Linked DNA regions of Homo sapiens: region 2 is linked to region 1. The links are contacts of gene promoters, found by promoter capture Hi-C in blood cells and fetal thymus (Javierre and others, 2016). All regions are on one chromosome and are shown on one strand. Each heading gives the region's core, a stretch centred on a gene start or on the middle of the fragment in contact. The rest is flanking DNA. Distances are from core to core; before and after follow the strand shown.

Evidence for each region. The method cuts DNA at HindIII sites, captures the fragments that hold promoters and counts their contacts. A CHiCAGO score of 5 or more calls a contact.
Region 2: a fragment that was not itself captured here is called in contact with the fragment with the promoter of PLCB1 in region 1 in 4 of 17 cell types (neutrophils, M1 macrophages, M2 macrophages and 1 more); the score reaches 7.7 in neutrophils.

Annotation. Positions count from the first base shown.
Region 1 is chr20:8,130,932-8,134,797 of GRCh38, reverse strand. It overlaps PLCB1 (phospholipase C beta 1), which reads right to left and starts at 2,532. Exons shown (of 32, transcript NM_015192.4): 1 at 2,048-2,532. The coding sequence starts at 2,146. RefSeq lists a silencer at 2,307-2,446. The HindIII fragment of the contact is 1,963 bases long and covers 1,880-3,842 here.
Region 2 is chr20:8,723,174-8,726,723 of GRCh38, reverse strand. It overlaps PLCB1 (phospholipase C beta 1), which reads right to left. Exons shown (of 32, transcript NM_015192.4): 16 at 1,972-2,068. Among named protein-coding and RNA genes, the nearest start is that of RNU105B, 110 kb to the left of the region's middle. The HindIII fragment of the contact is 7,086 bases long and covers 1-3,550 here.

The DNA.
Region 1 (3,866 bases), core at 1,283-3,782:
AAACTCACTGCTGCAATGCTCAGAAGGAGCTCTTTTCAACTTCTTCTTTGGTTGGTATTTCACTAACGTCCTCTCTATTACCCTCAATGCATCACCCAATCTCTCTCTCATTGGTGTTTTTGATGATTTTTGTCTCCTCCACCTAGCATGTAAGGTCCGTAACAGCAGGGATTTTGTCTACTTTTTTCACCACCCCAGAATCCAGTCTAGGATTGGCAGTAATAGGTGAGCAAGAAATATGTGTTACAGAAATGCACATAATGAAAGTCATCTACCTGGATATACCAAAATGTGTTTTCATAGAATACTTTCATTCTCAATGTGATGTTGGCTATTCTCTCCCAAACAAGAAATTATAGAGAATTATTTAAAATACAGTTTAGAATCATCACTGTATACAAATCCAGAGCTTACGCTGAAACTCCCTTTTCTAAATTCTGCAAAGTCTCTTTCTCTTTCCTCTGCCCTTCACTCTCTTTCTCAGTAAATCCATCATCACATCACCTCTCTATTCAAGGATCTCAAAATGGGCAAGACCGTCTTGTTTATTGCTGAACTGCATTTTCTTTGTCTTTTTTTTCCCTGACACAAAGCATTTAATCTGCGTCTGAATTTATTGTTTAGATTCTATTCCATTTACAGAAACATTCAGTACAATTAGACTGGAACAGAAAGAAGAAAAGTGTGAAGCCCATGGTAAAAAGATGTATGTTTACATCCTTGCCTACAGCATTTAATAATTGGCACGAGCTTTCAAGGAAGCTGTGGTTCATACTCCAAGTTCCGTTTGCGCTTCCAGCTGGACAAAATATAGACACAGACGCACTCAGCTAAGTAATTGGATTCACTACCTGGAATATTTAAATTGTTTTCAGACACTGGAAAATGGCTTAAGAAGATTAAAGAAAAATACCCTAGAGGATAACAGGCTATAATTTACTAGGTGGAAAATCTTTTCGGCAAGAAGAACGCCTCATTCTCCTATAATTCCTTCTGATTAAGAGATGTATTAGTCATTTGGACTTAAATTTGCTTAGAGCCTGGCAACTCGGGTTTATTTCAGTAGGTTTTTCTTATCGAACCTTTAGAATGACACCCAGGACATAAAACTGATACCATAATGTTCTCCATCCGAAGATTCGCATGTTTTCAGCTGGATAACTAATTTACGTGTTTTGAAGACAACTGGGGTAGAGGGGAAGGGGAAGTCATTTGAAGTCCTGGGGTCTGGGCCGCTCGTAAAGCATTAGAGACCCCGGCGCTGGGCTAGGCTCTGCCCTACCTGGCAAACGGTGCAGGTAAATCGTGGGGCAAACTCTCAACCTGTCTATTTCAGGCAGAAGACTCCAATCAGCTCAGTTCTCAAAAGTCAGCCCTCCCCACTTGCCTGCAGGCCCATGAGCCCTCCAGGACCCCTCAAGGGCCCCCATTCTGTTCACGCCCTCCCCAGATGTGTCCCCGCAGCCCTTTTCAGGGACCCTCACTCCGGAGCCAGGCGCTGAAGTTTGGCATCAACGACCACCTGTTGGCTGGACCGTTGTGTCCTCCGCCGCCTTGGCTCCCACAAAAGCGCCAAGAGGGTTCGCAATCACTAAAGTGTTTTGAACTTCAGGTCCTTCCTTCTTGAAATCGGGCAAAAGAGGTAATAGGGGGTGCGTCCGCAGGCGGAGAGGGACGCGATTTGTTCACACCAGGCGCTTTCCAGTTGGTCCCAACTTCACACTCCCTACTTTCCGAACTCTCAGGACCTGTCACCAGGCAAAGCTTGCCCCTCCCTCTCCACTGGCCCAAAAGATGTAAGACCCTCAGGGGGCGCCTGCCAGACCCAGAAAGGATGGCAACTACTGAAGCCCGATGAAACAGGAGCGCGCGCAAAGCTTCTGCCCTTGGACATCCGCTTTGGCAGATGCCAACCTGTGCGCCCGAGGCTGCCCCTGCCCGCTCCCAGTGCGCCCATTGCATAACGCGCCCCTTGCCCCACCCCCACGACGCCCGCCCTGCCCGGTGCCCGAGCCAGCGCCCCGACTCGGGCCGCCCCAATACTTACATCATCCCACTTGACGAATTTGGTGCCCTTCTTGAGGCTGTCGGACACGCACACGGGCTTGAGTTGCAAGGCGTGCACTCCGGGTTGAGCCCCGGCCATCTGGGCTCATCTGGGCTCCGGGCGGCCCGGGCGAGCGCGGCAGGGACTGGGGACCGTGCGCGGGGCGCGGGGCGCGGGGCGCGGGCTCCTTTCTCTGCTCCGGAGGCGCTCGACTCTGCTCCCCGCCGGCCTCCCCGGCCTCCCGGCCTCCGCACCTCCCTCCGGCGCCGCTCAGCAGGCAGAGCGCGCGGGGGCGCAGCGCCCGGCCATGCCCCGGGCGGGACGCGAGGTCTGGAGCCCGCGGTGGATGAGGAGCCTCGGAAGGCGAAGAGAAGCCGAGCCGGTCAGCCGAGGCTGCCAGTCGCGGCGGATTCTGCTCCTCCGCCGCCGCCGCCTCAAAGCGCACCATTCAGCACATCCTCTATACACAGAGGGAGAGAGCGAGTGACACACGCCCGGCGCCCCCCCTAACCGCTCTTTTCCCTCCTCCCTCCTCCTCCCCCCCGCCCCCCTTCCCCGCCACCCTCGCTCGCTGGGTCCTTCCTTCCCCCCGCGGCTCCCAGCCCAACTTTGCACGCTGGGTCAGGCGCCAGGAAGCGGGGACGCAGCGGCACCTCCTGGCTCCCGAGCCCCATTGCAGCCAACGCCTGCCTCCCGCATTCGCTCTGAGCATGCCCCGTGCCCTGGTTGCAGAGGTGCTAGGGGTCCCCAGGAGCCTTACGCTCTTTGGGGTTTTCTTGGGAATTTGGGCTCGAGCTCCGGAGCGTCTTTGGATCCCAACTGGCTGGGAAAAGGGGCCCATCGGGAGGAACCAAAGAGGCAACCCCTGGCTTTTGGCTCTAGCTGGAGCTCTCCAGCGCCAGCCACAAACCAGCTTTTTGAAGAGAATTATCATTTATCAGCAGAGAAGAGCGCAGTTGAGAGGCTCTTTGAGGAAACCTGGCCGCGCCTGAGAGTTTGCAGCGCGCTGATCTTGAAACCCGGGCAAACGGTTACGTTGTGCTTTCGAGACAGAAAGCCCATCCTAAAGAAAGCAAAGGTTTTATTTTCCGAGGAAGAAAGAGGGTGCCCTCTCCCGCTCCTCTCCTTGAGTGTGTAGGATGTGTGGCGGGTGGGGGAGAGTCTTATTAATAGAAACTTGCTCATTTAGGAACATAGGTCCAGGAATGTTTGTCTTCACTCCTTCCACAAACATTTCTCAATTCAAGAAAGAAAGGGAGGGAGGGAGGGAAGAAGGGAAAGAGGAGGACCAGAATGGATAAAATTTTAAAGACTGGTAATACCAAATGCTTGAAAGGATGTGGAGCAACTGGAACTCTTTTTTTTTTTTTATTAAGGAGAGAGAGGAGAGGGAGAGAGAGAGTGAGTGAGTGTGAGAGAGAGAAAGAGAGAGAGAGAGAGACACACGCGGGAGGTGGGGGGGCGGAGAGAGAAATAGCTTGGAACTCTTGTTCATTGCTGGAGGGAATATAAAATAGTAAAACCACTTTGGAGAATAGTTTCTTATAAAGTAAGATATTTACTTATCATACAACCTAGAAATTCCACTCCTAAGTATTTGTCCAAAAGAAATGAAAACGTTCAAGTCTGCAGGGACTTGTAAAGTGATGTGAAGAACTTTCTTCTTAGTAGCCTGCAAATGTCAATCAACAGGTGAATGGATAAACAAACTGTGGTATGCCCAAATATTGGAATACTATTCCACAATAAAAATGAGTGGGCATGCAAGATCAGGGATGAATCGCGACTTTAAGCTTTGTAAAAGAAGCCGGACACGATA
Region 2 (3,550 bases), core at 214-2,713, 590 kb before region 1:
CCACACAAAATCTCCTTGAATTGTAATACCCACAGTGTCAAGGGGGGGTTACCAAGTGGGGGTAATTGAATTATGGGCGTGGTTCCCCTGTGTTGTTCTCATGATAATGCATTAGTCTCATGAGAGCTGATGGTTTTATAAGCATCTGGCATTTCCCTTGCCTGTACTCATTCTCTCTCCTGCTGCCCTGTGAAGAGGTGCCTTCCGCCTCATGATTGTTGTTTCCTGAGGTCTCCCCAGCCATGCAGAACTGTGAGTCAACTAAACCTCTTTTCTTTACAAATTACCCAGTCTCGGATATTTCTTCATAGCAGCACGAGAATGGACTAATAAAGTATAAAATAAAATAGAGGCCAGAGAGGAGGATGTGCTAAACACAAGAGAAACATTTTGAAAGTGAAATTCAAGCCTCCAATTAGAGTGAGAGAAAGAAAACAAAGTTATCTTAGTTTAGAAAGACCGAGAATCACTTTCTCTACCCTCATCCCCACTAAAAACCAACAATTATGAGCAGTATTTTAGATAAGTATAGCACAGGGTGGTTATATAGCTCTGAATTTTTTTAAACTGAGTTATCTTTGAGATATTTTCCCTCTTTGACCTCTCTTTCGAAATTAAAACCTCGTTCTTCTTAATGATTTCCAGGCTTCGTCATCCATCTTCTCACCTTCTCCAATCCACTCTAAGGCAAACCTTGGCTTCTCTTATTTTGGTCCATCATAAATCTACCTTTATATGACTTATTAAATTAAGCATAACTATTAATTAAAATTCAGTCAACATTAATAGGTACTTGGTAAAATATGTTGAATATTCTTTTTTCAAGGTTATAAAATGATATTAAACACAAGGAGAAAAGTGCTTGTTTGTGAGTCTAGCTGGTGCTGTTGTTTCCAGGTTCTGAAGAATCTAAATATATTGGCTCTTTCTCACACTTGGCTACTTGTCTTGGAACTTTTAACTAATGAGTTAGAGAAACTCATTGCAGCCAATGAAATTACAGTGATATAAAAATAACTACGCTAGGATGTTTCAAAGAAAACAACTTGTAAGAAACATCAGAAATTAGGACATCGAATTCAATGTTGAGAAATCATTATATATAAACTCTTGGAAGTTGAATTCTTTGTTGTAGAGATCTAGGTTGCATATACCACTAAGTGAAGACTTTTTGTAAGATTATACAAATATAAACAAGCGTGTTTGGTAGAGGCTTGGATTTTGATATAGCTGCAAAGCCATCCTTGATTAGAAGCTAGTACATTTAGGCAAATTTCTGTTTTTAAGGGTACACCCTTATAAGTGGCTAGTAAGTTTCAAGGATTCCCTTAATCTGATAGCATCTTACGCTTCATGCAAATACAAGGGGCATTTTCATAAAAGAACCCTTTTGTCTGGGTAAAGATGATATTTTTCTTTGCACAAGTATGGATGTATAGTTGAATAAAGGGAAAACACAAAGTGATGTGAAGTTAATGCATTTTCTTCTAAATATATACATGTGATGGACAAATGGAATATAGATAAATTGGTTCTATTTCTAATTATCAGGGTTCATCAAGTCTCTGCCTGCTTCCCTTCTGGGAAACAGGTAGATAGTTTATTTCAACATTATCACTTATGTAACAGATGGATCTCACTGTGTGTTGCGAACAAAAAGCAAAGTACAATTCCCAATTAGTTGTACTCTGGTCATGTGTCTTTCCGATAGCCATGTATGGCCTGTAGCCCTATTAAATATTTTTGGAGAACACCATAGAATACTTTCTCATATGGTTATTTTTATATATTACAATACATGCATATTTATTATATGTGTAAAGTAACAAGGCAGTCAAAATGTACATATATTTAAGACTTCAAAAGCATAAATCTCTCTATTAAGGGTAACATTCTTTGGTCCCATTACTCCGTATTTAAAATATAATCATTATATGCTGCAAGAGGGGTTTTTCTCCAGGGAAAACTTACTTTTTGAAATTTCAAATGACTCAAACTTGACTGGCTGAATATAGTTCACCAGATTAGACATTTCTTCTGTGGCCATAGCCTCACTTCCAGCAGTCCCCTGGAAGTAGGAATAAAAAAGAAAACATTTCCAGAGTCAGCATTATATTATCAGTTATTTTCCCAGGAAAATGACAACATGATTCAAGCATGCAGAAAATCATCCCTCCCTTTCTGAAAATTACAAAATGAAAATTCATTACAGGAGAAAGGCAACAGCAACACCTCATTTTATAAAAGGGAGGGAGGAAGGGAGGTGGGAGGTTGAATGGTGGCTGGCAGCATGGCCCCAACATAATCACTCCCTATCCCCTGCCCCCTCCTTTCCATTTAGAAATGCCTGATCTTAGCCCCTCTGCAGGCCTCAGACTCAGATCCTGCATTTTACTAAGGTCATTGGAATGCCCATCAAAGTTTGAGAAGCACTGAGCTATAGCTCATCTTCCATTGCAGGGTGTCCATAGGTGTTGTCTAAGGTTAGTAATTTTTTTTAACATTTATTTTAAATTCAGGGCTACACGTGCAGGTTTTTTTTTTTATATAAATAAACTTATGTCACTGGGGTTTGTTGTGCAGATTATTTTGTCACCCGGGTATTAAGCCTGGCATCCATTAGTTATTTTTCCTGATCCTCTCCCTCCTCCCACCTCCACCCGCAGGTAGGCCCCATGTCCCTTTATGTGTCCATGTGTTCTCATCGGATTCGTAAATTAAGAATTCACTGTACAATAAGAAAATTGTTAGGTAGGTGACCACCAAATGAAGGGAAAATTGATAATAATAATAAAAAGATTGCTTTGTGGAAATGGGCAGGGGTGGGTAAACAACTGCTTTCCTTCATCAACATTCTTCCCTCCCTCCCTTCTTGGCTCCTGATGTGTCTTAGACAAGCAGGAAAGCATAGTGCAGGGATTAATGGCTCGCGTTCTAGAGCCAGCCTGCCTGATTTCGAATCCCAAGTCCACTAGTTAGAAACCGGGCAACCTTGGGCAACTTACTTAATTGCTCTGTGCCTCACTTGACTCATTTGTAAAATTAGGATAAAATCAGTTCCTACAGCATATAGGGGTTTTTGATTAAAAAATAAGTTAATTTATGTGAAGGAGCTTAGAACAGTGCCTGGCAAGTGGTACTACAATCTCATGTTGCTTTTGCTATTATTAGCTATGACATATTACTTTGATAGAGTTTTTAATGAAAAAGAAAACCAATAATGCAGTGTTGGCACAAAATGGGCCTCTGTAGAGTGATCTAATATTGTCTCACATTTTTAGAAGAGAGAATGCATGGAGATGAGTTTCTTTTAAAAATTCTGGTAGTAATATTTGGGTCAAATGTTAACTGGGAAACATTCATTTGCAAATGGACTATCCAATTAGTAAGAGAGTTTAAAAATTATTTAGAATCACTGATCAGAAATTATACACAATTGAAATCATTCTCAGGAACATATACTTTGCCAGACATGGTAAGCTGTTTTCCTCCTGGAAATCAAAAATTGAAATGTAGTGAGGGAACATAATTAAGCAAAACTTTAGACATT